2 separate regions of the Homo sapiens genome follow, and region 2 is linked to region 1. Evidence: promoter capture Hi-C in 16 types of primary human blood cells and fetal thymus (Javierre and others, 2016). All regions are on one chromosome and are shown on one strand. Each heading gives the region's core, a stretch centred on a gene start or on the middle of the fragment in contact. The rest is flanking DNA. Distances are from core to core; before and after follow the strand shown.

Region 1 (5,703 bases), core at 1,059-3,558:
GAATATTTACCTTGGGCCTTGGAATGGATTCATCTACCCACACTTTGTGCAGGTTGGCTCTTAGCTTCCAGGTCAAGACACCTTTTTAAAATAATTATTTTTATGTTTATTTTATTATTATTATTTTTTGAGATGGAGTCTTGCGCTGTCGCCCAGGCTAGAGTGCAGTGGTTTGATCTCGGCTCACTGCAAGCTCCTTCTCCCGGGTTCATACTATTCTCCTGCCTCAGCCTCCTGACTAGCTGTGACTACAGGCACCCCCCACCATGCCCGGCTAATTTTTTTTGTTTTCTTTTTTGTATTTTTAGTAGAGATGGGGTTTCACCGTGTTAGCCAGGATGGTCTCGATCTCCTGACCTCGTGATCTGCCTGCCTCGGCCTCCCAAAGTGCTCTGATTACAGGCATGAGCCACCGTGCCCGGCCAAGACACTTGATTGAATTGCTTAAGTGCTTCCCATGTGCCAGAGCCATGAAAGGTAAATAAAGAAAATAAAGAAAAAGAAGAGTCAATTATTTTGATGACTTAGAGATCTGACCATGGAGGCCATGTGAAAGGTGGTAACCAGCAATTTAAACCATGTGTTGCTGGATCCCAGAGTAATATAATTTATTGATTTCTCGGGGAAATGAGAATGTTCTGAGAGTGGTATTTAACATCCACTACACTCGCATGAAATTCTCCCAATCACAGACTGATCTGTTCATTGAATTATGATATAGAGTTCAAAAACACTCGATAGAGGAAATTATATTCAAGTTGTGTCTTAAATATGGAGTAAGATTTTAATAGTACAGGAAAGGATGGACTTACAGAGGGAAGAACAATAGCAGCAAATTCAGACATTTGTAAAACTGGAGGACACAGGATGGGAAGTAGGACTGTGTCTACCCAAGCAAAGAGGGGTGGGTTTGGAACCAAATATCTGAAGGGCTTGGATGCTTTGGAGTCAATTGGCAATTTTTTAGAATTTATCAAAACAATTCGATAATCTGTTTATAAGAGAGAGTTCTAGAACTTCTAGGATGAAATTTTTGAAACACAACAAGGAGGGAGAGATAAGGAAATGAGTTATCACTGTAACTGAAACCTTTCATCATGGCACAGAAAAAGCAATCTCTATCTTCAGAACACACTTGTATCCCAGAAAATATTTCATTATATATATAGTAATGTAGTAAGTGATTAGGATGCCGTTTAAATCAGAAAGGAAAGAATTAATATTTATGTAAATTTTGTTAAGAAAAGTAGACAATCCTTTGGTGAAACAGGAAACTCCATCTTCCTTTCATATCATACACTTAAATGAATCACGCGGTGATTCAAAAGAAAAATGAAAGAGCCTGAAATGAATATAGATATGCACTTATTGGGAATCAGGCTAAGGAATGTCTTTTTGGTCATACTGGAGAAAAAAAAGAAGCCACAAATGAAAAGACTGATATACCTTGTCAGATGAAGTTTTTTGTTTTTTTTTTTTTCTAAACTACTTTATAAATGTTGAAACTGGGGGAGCAATTCATCACTTAGAAGCGATATCATTCATACACAGAGAGTGTATGACAATAAAAGATGACAATGAAATGCAATCGGTAATAAGCATATTTACTCTGTCAAATTGGGAAAATAAGACAGGATATTTAGTCCATCAAATTGGGAAAATATTAAAGAAAGTGATTGTGTGTAGTTTTGATATCATAAAATTAGAAGTGTAAGTTCAATGCAGGACAAAGGGGTAACTTCCCTAAAAACTAAAGAATGCTAGGCAAGTATTGCAAATAATTTGTGTTTTTTTATTATCTCTATGTATCTCTACGTCTTTTGTGACATACAGAACTATCCACGATATATGACCTGTGGCAAGAAATGATTACAAAATATTATGATGCCATTTGGGAAATGGGATTCTTAAGAATTCATATTTACTCACATAAACCAGGGATTAAGTAAGAATTTTTTTTAAACCATTCTTTACATGTAATATGAACTACTTTTGAAATAAATATTTAGTTGGCTTTTACACCAGAAAATCAATAATGCTTTATATCCCTGGTGATGGGATGATGGGCTTGTTTGAGAATATAGTCAGGTTTGCTACAACGCGAATATGTTAGTACTGAGTAAAGACATTCTTTTCAACTCAGAAACACCTTGCATGCCGCCTCCCGCCGCCTCGCAGTGGGCGTGACTCGAGGTGGACGCGCATTTACGACACCATCGCCCCTAGGATCGGACTGCGCTGCGGAGGGTTCTGGGAAAGGTAGTCCCACACCTCGAGTCGACTACTTCCGTTTCCGGTGGGCGCGTCACCTTGATTGCTTCTTAGGCAGTGGTGAGGCGTCTTAGAGACGTGCATCTCCATGCGGTTGTACTGTCAGGCCATGGGAATTAGGATCGGCTCTATAGGACCAGTGTGAAGGGACAACGTGCGGCGGAGGGTCGAAGCCCACGGATTTCCATGAGCTCGGCCTGGTGAGGCAGGGGTGTAAGGAGGCGCACGTATCGAACATTCTGAGCGCCTGTGCGGGGTGGGCCCGGGTCGGCAGCCCTCGCAGTCCAGGCTTGGAAAAGCAGTTTGAGGCCAGCTCTGGCTTTGAGATGAGATCTGCAGTGCGGGAGACTCCACTGTGTCAGTTGCGGATCGATGACATGAATTTTCTCAGGGTAGCCGCCCACCCACTTGTGGAGTAATTTCAGAGTTTTCTGCGAAGTCATTTCTGTAAACAGGAAGTTGATTCCCTGTGTTCTAATTTTATCCTTTGAAATGTATTAAGCGCTGTGCAAGTCCTAGGAGTTGGTTTGCTGTATCGTTGCTGGCTCTGCTTTTTGTAGCCGCCTAAGCACACACAGGCAGAATTTCACTTGTAAGTGTCCCACAGCATGTGACAGTCAGCTCTGGATTAAAATCTTGAGATTTTGTCTTGATTCTCCTTGTCTCCTGAAAGGGGCAGTGAAAGTAGGCTTGTAGACGGTTTCTTTGGGCATCAGGAATGGCGTGTCCCTTGTACTCTGAGTCCTGTAGGAAGAGAGGTTCTTTTCCTCGGCTCCTGAAGCAAGTAGCGAGGGTAGATTACAGGAAGGGGTAGATTACATCCAGCTGGCACTGAGAGATTTCCCCCTGTGGCGTGGTGGGAATTGGGATTAAATCATGTTATCCTGCTGTTCATTTTTCTTTCACAGGCTTCCTTCTTGGAATTGTTCGTTTCTCGGAGATAATTGTATAAAAGAAGGAGAAATAACCCCACATCTCTTGACACTAGAGCTCCAGGTGAGTGAACTTTGGTTCTCTTTTGTGGCAATGCCAGGTCTCTTGGTGACCTCATTCTTCATCCCATTGATATCACAAATGTTCATTCAGACCCCTTAGCCACACCTGCCTTCCCCTAGAAATGGGGGAGGTTTGAGGAATTTCCCAGTGTCTTTATTTAGTGTATTCTCTTCTTGGCTCCTAGTAGTGTGTCACTGGGTCAGTAAAGGCTTACACTGTTTCAGCGCCATGCTGAAGAAACGCAGGGTAGAAATAATTAGAGTAACTGTGATGGTGTATATTAACTGAGTGCTTACTATATGCCAGGTATTATTTATCCATGGTGTCTAGGACAGTGCCAGGCTTGCCAATAAATATTTGAATAAATGAATGTATTTCTATTGAATTTTCTGAGCAAGTTTGTATGTTAGCTATTATCCCCATGTCACAGATGAGTTGCTAAGGTTTAAAAAGTTAAAAAAACTTAACAGGTAAGACCTGGCCAGGAGACCTTCTAAACAGAAACCAGGTCTTTGCGCTTATGCTTCCTTCTGGACTTGTCTCATCCCAGCTTTTTTCACAGCTGATTTATTTGTCAGGCAGCTCTTAGAGACTGTCCCTGACCACCTGATTTAATGTTGCTCTTTCCACAGCTGCCACATATGTTCACCTGATAGCACCTACATTCTTGTTGGAAAACAGGAATCTATCATGTTTGCTTTATTTTCTTCATAGCCCTTTTTGCAACCAAAGGTCACCTAATTTGTAGAGAGATTAACCCACCCGAAAGTAAGCACCATGAGAACAATTACCTTTTCCATCTTAATTTACTGCTGTATGTCTAGTGTTTATTCTCCTAAGATGTTGTTAGACACTGAATGTACATTTACTAAATGCATGAGTTCCTGTATTCCTAGGTTAATGCTGGGTTGGGTCAATGGTAATAGTATATTGATGATTTTCTGTGTACCACGTACTGGGCTTTGAAGTTTATTCACATAGGCATGTGTGTGTGAAAGAGAGAAAAACTTAAATTATTTTAGTTTTGCAAGTAAGGATTATCTTTATTTGACAGAAGTACAGACTCATTCAAAAGGTTAAGTCTCTCCTGTGGTGTTAATATAACTACAAAGTGGCTGAACCAGAATTCGAACCTAAACCTTTTGATAACTCCAGTTTTGAGAAACTAGAGCTGCAATTTTCAAAACCCTGCTTTCCCTTTTGCTATCTTATTATTTTATCATAACTTCATAATTTACCTGTTTTCCTCAGACTTCAACCTCAGAATCATATTTATTTCTCCTCCTCTTCATCCCTACATGGAATTATTCTTTTAGTTTTGTTATTTCTACCTCTGCAATTATCTCTTATTCCCATTACTTCTTTGTCCCACTGCCTTTGTACCAACTCTTTCTGTCACCCTCTTTCTCCCCCAATGTGAGCTCCATGCAGTCCAGAAATGTATCCTAAGCACATGGAACACAGTAGATATTCATTATGGCTGCTGATTTCCACCTAGAATGTTAGCAGCTGCATGAGCACAGAGTCGTTGTCTGCCCTGTTCACTCTTGGGTCCCAACACAGCCAGCATAGTCCTTAGCACCCAAATTACTAAGTCCATGAACTGGAGAAGAAAATCACTTCTGCTGTGAAGATGACATCAAGAGGACCCAAGGATCCATATCAGCAAGCTGAGTTCAGGTTACTCCCGTTCTCCCATTTAAATATTTATTGAGCACCTGCTGTGTGCCAGGTGCCAACTGAAATACTGGCCCTCATAGAGTTCACATTCTTGTGGGTGGAGAAAGATGGTCAACAAGAAAAATAGACTGTAGGTAGGGTGTCAGTTTCATGGAGAAAAATGAAGCAGAGGAGGGTGTAGGAAGTGCTGGTTTGCCAATTTGAGAAGGATAATGAGGGATGAATTTCACTGAGAAAATGGTGCTTGAATAGGGACCCAAAGCAGGTGAGGGGCCTGCAGGCATCTGATGAAAAAGGCAAAGAGAACAACACGAAGGCCCGGTGATGAGGGCATGTGAAGAACAGCAAGGAAGCCAGAGCTGAGCAGAATGAGAAAGAGGGAGGATAAGTGGGAAACTGAATATTGGGAAGGAAGATAGTGTAAGGTCTTTGGGCCATTGAAAGGACCTTGGTGCAAGGTTTTGAGTAAAATGATGGTTTTGGCCAGAGAAGAATATGAGTTTATATTTTTAAAAGATCACTCCAGCTGCTGTGTAGGAAGTAGACTGAAACGAACAGGAGTAGGAATGCAGAGGCCATTTAGGGGGCTGTCACGTTAATGCAGGTGAGACATGATGGTGTGGACGGTGGCAGCAAGAATAATCTGATTCTGGTTCTGATTTGTAGGTATTTGCTGATGGATTGGATGTAGAGTACGAGGAAGAAATCAAGGATGACTAGAATATTTCCTCTTCATTTCAAAGGAGAGAAGTACCT
Region 2 (5,703 bases), core at 2,156-4,655, 8.0 Mb after region 1:
CAAGACTCCGTCTCAAAAAAACAAACAAACAAACAAAAAAAAAACAGAAACAGAAAACTGGTTTGACCCAGGTATATCCAAACTTAAAATGTGTATAATCTCTGAGCAATTATACTTTTAGGAATTAATTGTGAAGAACTCATATACAGGTAAAATGACATATGCACAAGGATATTTATTACAGCATTGTTTGTTACAGTGAAAAACTAGAAAAAGCCTAAATGATGATTGGCCACAGATTGGTTAAATAAATAAAGTTATGGCCAGGCGCGGTGGCTCATACCTGTAATCTTAGCACATTGGGAGGTGGAGTCGGGCGGATCATGAGGTCAGGAGATCGAGACCATCCTGGCTAACAGAGTGAAACCCCATCACTACTAAAAATACAAAAAATTAGCCGGGCGTGGTGGCACATGCCTGTAGTCCCAGCTACTTGGGAGGCTGAGGCAGAAGAATCGCTTGAACCCAGGACGCGGAGGTTGCAGTGAGCCAAGATTGCACCACTGCACTCCAGCCTGGGGGACAGAGTGAGACTCTGTCTCAAAAAGAAAAGAAAAAAAAAATTAAGTTATATCCATTTAATGGACTGCAATGTAGCTATTAAACCAGTTATGTAACACAATATGTGCTAATTGGGACTTCATTCCAAGATATGTAAAGTAAAAATAGCAACGTGTATAAGTAGTGTGTATAATATGAGTTAAAAAAATCTATATGTATGTATGTGTGTGTATATAAACATATATTCTCCAAGCCATATTGAGTTGCCCTAATCCATCCTGCTCCAGTTACAGCCTGGTATCTTTGAAGCTAGGGATGATAGAGACATTTGCCCATTCTCCTCACTGATACCCCACAAGCATTTCTGAAGCATGAACAGAAGGAAAATGATCATTCTGGGCCAGGAGCTGTGAGGAAAGTGGGGTCTTATCTATCTTCTTTTGCCTCTCCCAGCTCTACCCTTCTCCAAAAGAAGAGCCAAGAGAAGGTCCTTTTCTACAAATATCAGAGCCATGGCTCAGGTGAGATACTGTTTCCTTTTGCTCAGATAGAGTGATTTTTACTTCTAGTAACTGTAAACATTTGCTTTCCTCATGATGATGCTTTTTGATGTTAGAAAAACAACACCTTTCAAAAAGTTTGGTTATGAGCAATGTCAGAATTTTGCTGTAAAGGAAAGGATCTCTAACAGGCCAATTCATAGAAAAAAAAAGAATTGATTACATAATCATTGTTAGAAAATTTACCCTTTTTTTTTTTTTTTCGAGATGGAGTCTCGCTCTGTCTTCTAGGCTGGAGTACAGTGGCACAATCTTGGCTTACTGCAACCTCTGCCTCCAGGGTTCAAGTGATTCTCCTACTTCAGCCTCCTGAGTAGCTGGGATTACAGGCGCCCACAACCACACCCAGCTAATTTTTGTATTTTTAGTAGAGATGAGTTTTTGCCATGTTGTCCAGGCTGGCCTCGAATTCCTGACCTCAAGTTATCCACCCGCCTCAGCCTCCCAAAGAGCTGGGATTATAAGCATGAGCCACTGTGCCCAGAAAAAAATTTATATTAATTCACTGTTAACTGTTAGTCAGCCAAGTGGTTGAATAACAAATTTCTCTGAAGAAGTTTTAATTTAGATTAATGTCCATCAGAAAATCCCCTATCAGTTTCATCAAGAATACTTATTTCTTTCTTTCCATAAAGAGATTTAAGAATTATGTAATGTAAAAATTATGTAATGTAAAAACCTGACCCAGATCAGGTTTGGAATAATTTTTTTTACACTGGTTTCCAGGGTCCCCTGTCAGGAAAAGGACATGCATTTCCTCCTAAACAACCCCAGTCTCCTCTTCAGTTCCCCGCCGCCCCCCGCTTTTAAACAATGTTTACATGCTGGTTTACAAGTCCTTCAGCATCTCCTATCTCAGATTTCTACCAAAAATCCTGATAGGGCAGAAATGTGTTCCCCACATTGAATTAATATGAATTTAATTTGCTTGGACAGTGATTTGATGGGATGAAAATAAGTAATTAGGGGCACCTTATAGGGAAAAGCCCTCATTAGCTCTGTAGACCTGGGTTTTCCAATAAGAAAATACATGCTGTGGTTTTGTTTGATTTCAGTCCTAGTACATGGCAAGGTCTCCTGGTTAACGAGCCTTTTATGTTTGAGAGTGTGACTAGTGGTTGTTACAAAGCTCTCACACCTCACTAAGCATCCATGAAAAATTGATGTCAGTGGCCAAACGTGGTGACTCACACCTGTAATTCCAGCATTTTGGGAGGTTGAGGCTGGTGGTTTGCTTGAACCCAGGTGACTAGCCTGGGCAACATGGCAAACCCCATCTCTACAAAAAATACAAAAATTAGCCAGGCATGTTGGTGCACGCCTGTAGTCCCAGCTACTCGGGAGGCTGAGGTGGGAGGATCACTTGAGCCCAGGAAGTCATGGCTGCAGTGAGATGTGATCATGCCACTGCACTTTGGCCTGGGTGATAGAGGAAGATCCTGTTTAAAAAACAAAAGCAATGATGTCAGTAATACCAACGGTGAAACTGGATCATCCTTCACCAGTTTTCTGTAGCTTAGTTATAAGGGGAATTTACAGCTGGGCAGTAGGTGGTTATAAATAAGATTGGGCCAATGTTGGCGAGGTCTTTAGAGATCACCTCTAGCCTGAATTTCTAAAGGCAAAAGGATAGATGTCATTTATAGCCTTATAATAGAATAGTATTCAGTGAGAAACATATGAATAGCATTTGTTGTAACAAGGAATATTTCTTATTATATAATAGTCTGGCATAGGAATGGATCAGAGTCTTAAATTATATGCAAATTTAATTTTCTAAGATACAAAGTTTTTAAAAGTAATTTTACACATGTCTACAAGGGAAATAGTTCAATTCTGGTTTTGTCCCGTTACCAGACCCACTCCAAGAGGCCACTGCCCTCAACTCTTGAAAATTGGTTTACTACCATTTTTCGATAAACCCACTTTAGTCATTATCTCTTGACTGATTGCAAAGTTAAAGGGAACATTGTATTCCCATACTGCACTTTCGTTTTTCCTGACTGTTACCATATCACCATTTTTGGTTAAATCAATAGTATACACCTTATTACGGCTGCAAATATTATTCTCTGCCAAGCGAGCTCATGGCTTTGTTCTATACAACCCTTCATTTTCCTGGGGTTAATTGCTTCCCCCCTCATTTGCCTAGTCATTTGTGTGTTTATATCCAGAATCTCCAGCATCATTGCCACAGGCCAATCAATACGTTTTCCCTCTGGTCAGACACATCAGTTCCTTTTGATATAGAGACTTGATTCCCCATTTCCTGTTTCCTTGTTCCCATCTGGTCTGGTTTACTCTCTCAGTCACAGCTTTCCTGAAACTTTACCTACTTCCTGAATCCTATGTTGTCTTCTTTTTTTGTTTACTCCCTCGTTTTTGTGGACCACATCCTCTAGAAGTTTCTGAAGAAACTCTTCTTGAGTCCTTGGATGTCTACAAATGTCTTTTCTCAACACTCAAAACAGAATGATAGTTTGTTTATGAAAGTCTAGGTCAGAGTTTATTTTCTCCATCAGAATATTGAAGAATCGTTCTTATTGTTTCTTGCTTTTAGAGGTGTTCTTGAGAATTCCATTGCCCCTCTAATTTTTGATGCCTTTTATATGACCTGCTCTTCTCTCTGGTGGCTTTTAATGTCTTTATCCCTTATTCTGAAATTTGACTCTCAGCTATTTGGGAAAAGAGAGGGAGAAAGATCACATGTATCGTTGATTTATTATATGACAGGTATAGTGTGAGGCATTGCATATACAATTTCATTTAATTGGAAAAGCCCTCTTAGCTGAATTTTTGTACCTTCCCAACCTTGTTTGGATAATGGAGGTATCCTAGCATACTCAGGCAGTTTCATTTGGAGGAAACAGAATGACCTGGAAACCCAGTGATTCAGTTGTGCTTATTTGTTTACAGTCCTCCACTGCTTCCCAGACATTCATATGCTCACTATATTTTACTTCCTCTACCTTAATCTTTTTCTTCTCTCTTTCCTTCACAAAAGTACTTTTTAAAAAATTAATGAAGTCATATACGTGGTTATTGTTCCAGGAGTCAGTGATGTTCAGTGATGTGTCCGTAGACTTCTCTCAGGAGGAGTGGGAATGCCTGAATGATGATCAGAGAGATTTATACAGAGATGTGATGTTGGAGAATTACAGCAACCTGGTTTCAATGGGTAAGGACATCTGTCCATAGTAATTTAGATTCTGCCCTTGGAAGGCCTACTTCCTCCAATGTGAAATGCTCACCTGGCTTTCAAAAACCAGTCGAATTTTGATATCCTGTTCCACAGGAATGTTCTGAATATGGTAGAGTTAGAAAAAGGAAGCTGCATTGAGTTTTTGGGGATGTTTTACATCTTCCGTTATGTTTCATAAGTCCGTTGTACCTCTCTTTGACTCTTCTCATAATGCCATGTCTTTCTTTATAATGAAGGGACTGGATTTGAATTCTAGGATATGCTCATGATAAATTTGTTTTGTTACTTCTTTTGTAAGCAGGGCATTCTATTTCTAAACCAAATGTGATCTCCTACTTGGAGCAAGGGAAGGAGCCCTGGTTGGCTGACAGAGAGCTAACAAGAGGCCAGTGGCCAGGTAAGTGAGGCACAGCAGGTAATGCGTGATTTGGCTGGTAGAGAGACTGCATCTTTTAGATGCTATCTGGGAAACTCTCCTCACAGGCTTTTGGCCTGTTGTGCAAATGTAAGACCTTTTCTACATGAGCTTTCAAATGATCCTACCTTTCCCCTTTACCTAACACACTTTGCCTGCTTTTCTCCTCTTATCCTTCTCTCTCAGTTCTAACCAGCTGGTGCCCTCCTCCACCCTTTCTAGTGATATTCTTTTCTATCCATATTTTGGATCCATTTCCTTCCTAGCTTCTCATCCTCCTTTGTATTTAGTCTAATAAAAGCATCACTGTCTCCAGAAATAGATTTTTTCCTACACTGCCAAAGACTTATTTGCTTTTACTAAGTTTTTTGGGATAGGGGTTTATGCCCTCATTGATTCATTCATATTTTTTACCAACATTTACTGATTTTCTAACATGTATAAGGCACTCAGCTAGGTGCTGCAGAGTTTAAAAAAGGAATAAGCAATTTCAGAACTTACTGCCTAGTAGAAGTACTAGAACATGTCTACAAATAACACCACCATAAGCGAAGTTAAAATAGGGAGCTTAGCAGAAAGTGAGGGCTAACGAGGTAGAAGAGGGGTTGATCCACATAGAAGTCATAGGGGGAGATTTTTGGTGTAAGCATCATTGACTTTATATAGAGGGTTGGAAATAAAGGGCCTGTGTCTCCATGGAGAAGGTAAGAGCTGGCAAAGAGAGATTTGGTATGAAGGAGGAGGAACAGAACAGCACATTCATTCATTTAGTTTATGTCTCTGTAGTGACTATGGTATGCCCAGCACTATTCTCAACACTGAGGTTACAGTAATGAATAGAACATGCGTGATTGGGTGCAGTGGCTCACCCCTGTAATCCCAGCACTTTGGGAGGCTGAAGCAGGAGGATTGCCTGAGATCAGGAGTTCAAGACCAGCCTGGCCAACATGATGAAACCCCATCTCTACTAAAAAATACAAAAATCAGCTGGGTGTGGTAGCATGCGCCTGTAATCCCAGCTACTC

What was found. The method cuts DNA at HindIII sites, captures the fragments that hold promoters and counts their contacts. A CHiCAGO score of 5 or more calls a contact.
Region 2: a contact is called between a fragment that was not itself captured here and the fragment with the promoter of ZNF229 in region 1, in 1 of 17 cell types (non-activated CD4 T cells). The highest score is 6.1, in non-activated CD4 T cells.

The regions. Positions count from the first base shown.
Region 1 is chr19:44,445,077-44,450,779 of GRCh38, reverse strand. It overlaps ZNF229 (zinc finger protein 229), which reads left to right and starts at 2,308. Exons shown (of 6, transcript NM_014518.4): 1 at 2,308-2,471; 2 at 3,180-3,267. The HindIII fragment of the contact is 11,359 bases long and covers 1-5,703 here.
Region 2 is chr19:36,471,868-36,477,570 of GRCh38, reverse strand. It overlaps ZNF566 (zinc finger protein 566), which reads left to right. Exons shown (of 5, transcript NM_001145344.1): 2 at 955-1,022; 3 at 4,113-4,239; 4 at 4,565-4,660. The coding sequence starts at 1,014. Among named protein-coding and RNA genes, the nearest start is that of ZNF566, 15 kb to the left of the region's middle. The HindIII fragment of the contact is 7,755 bases long and covers 1-5,703 here.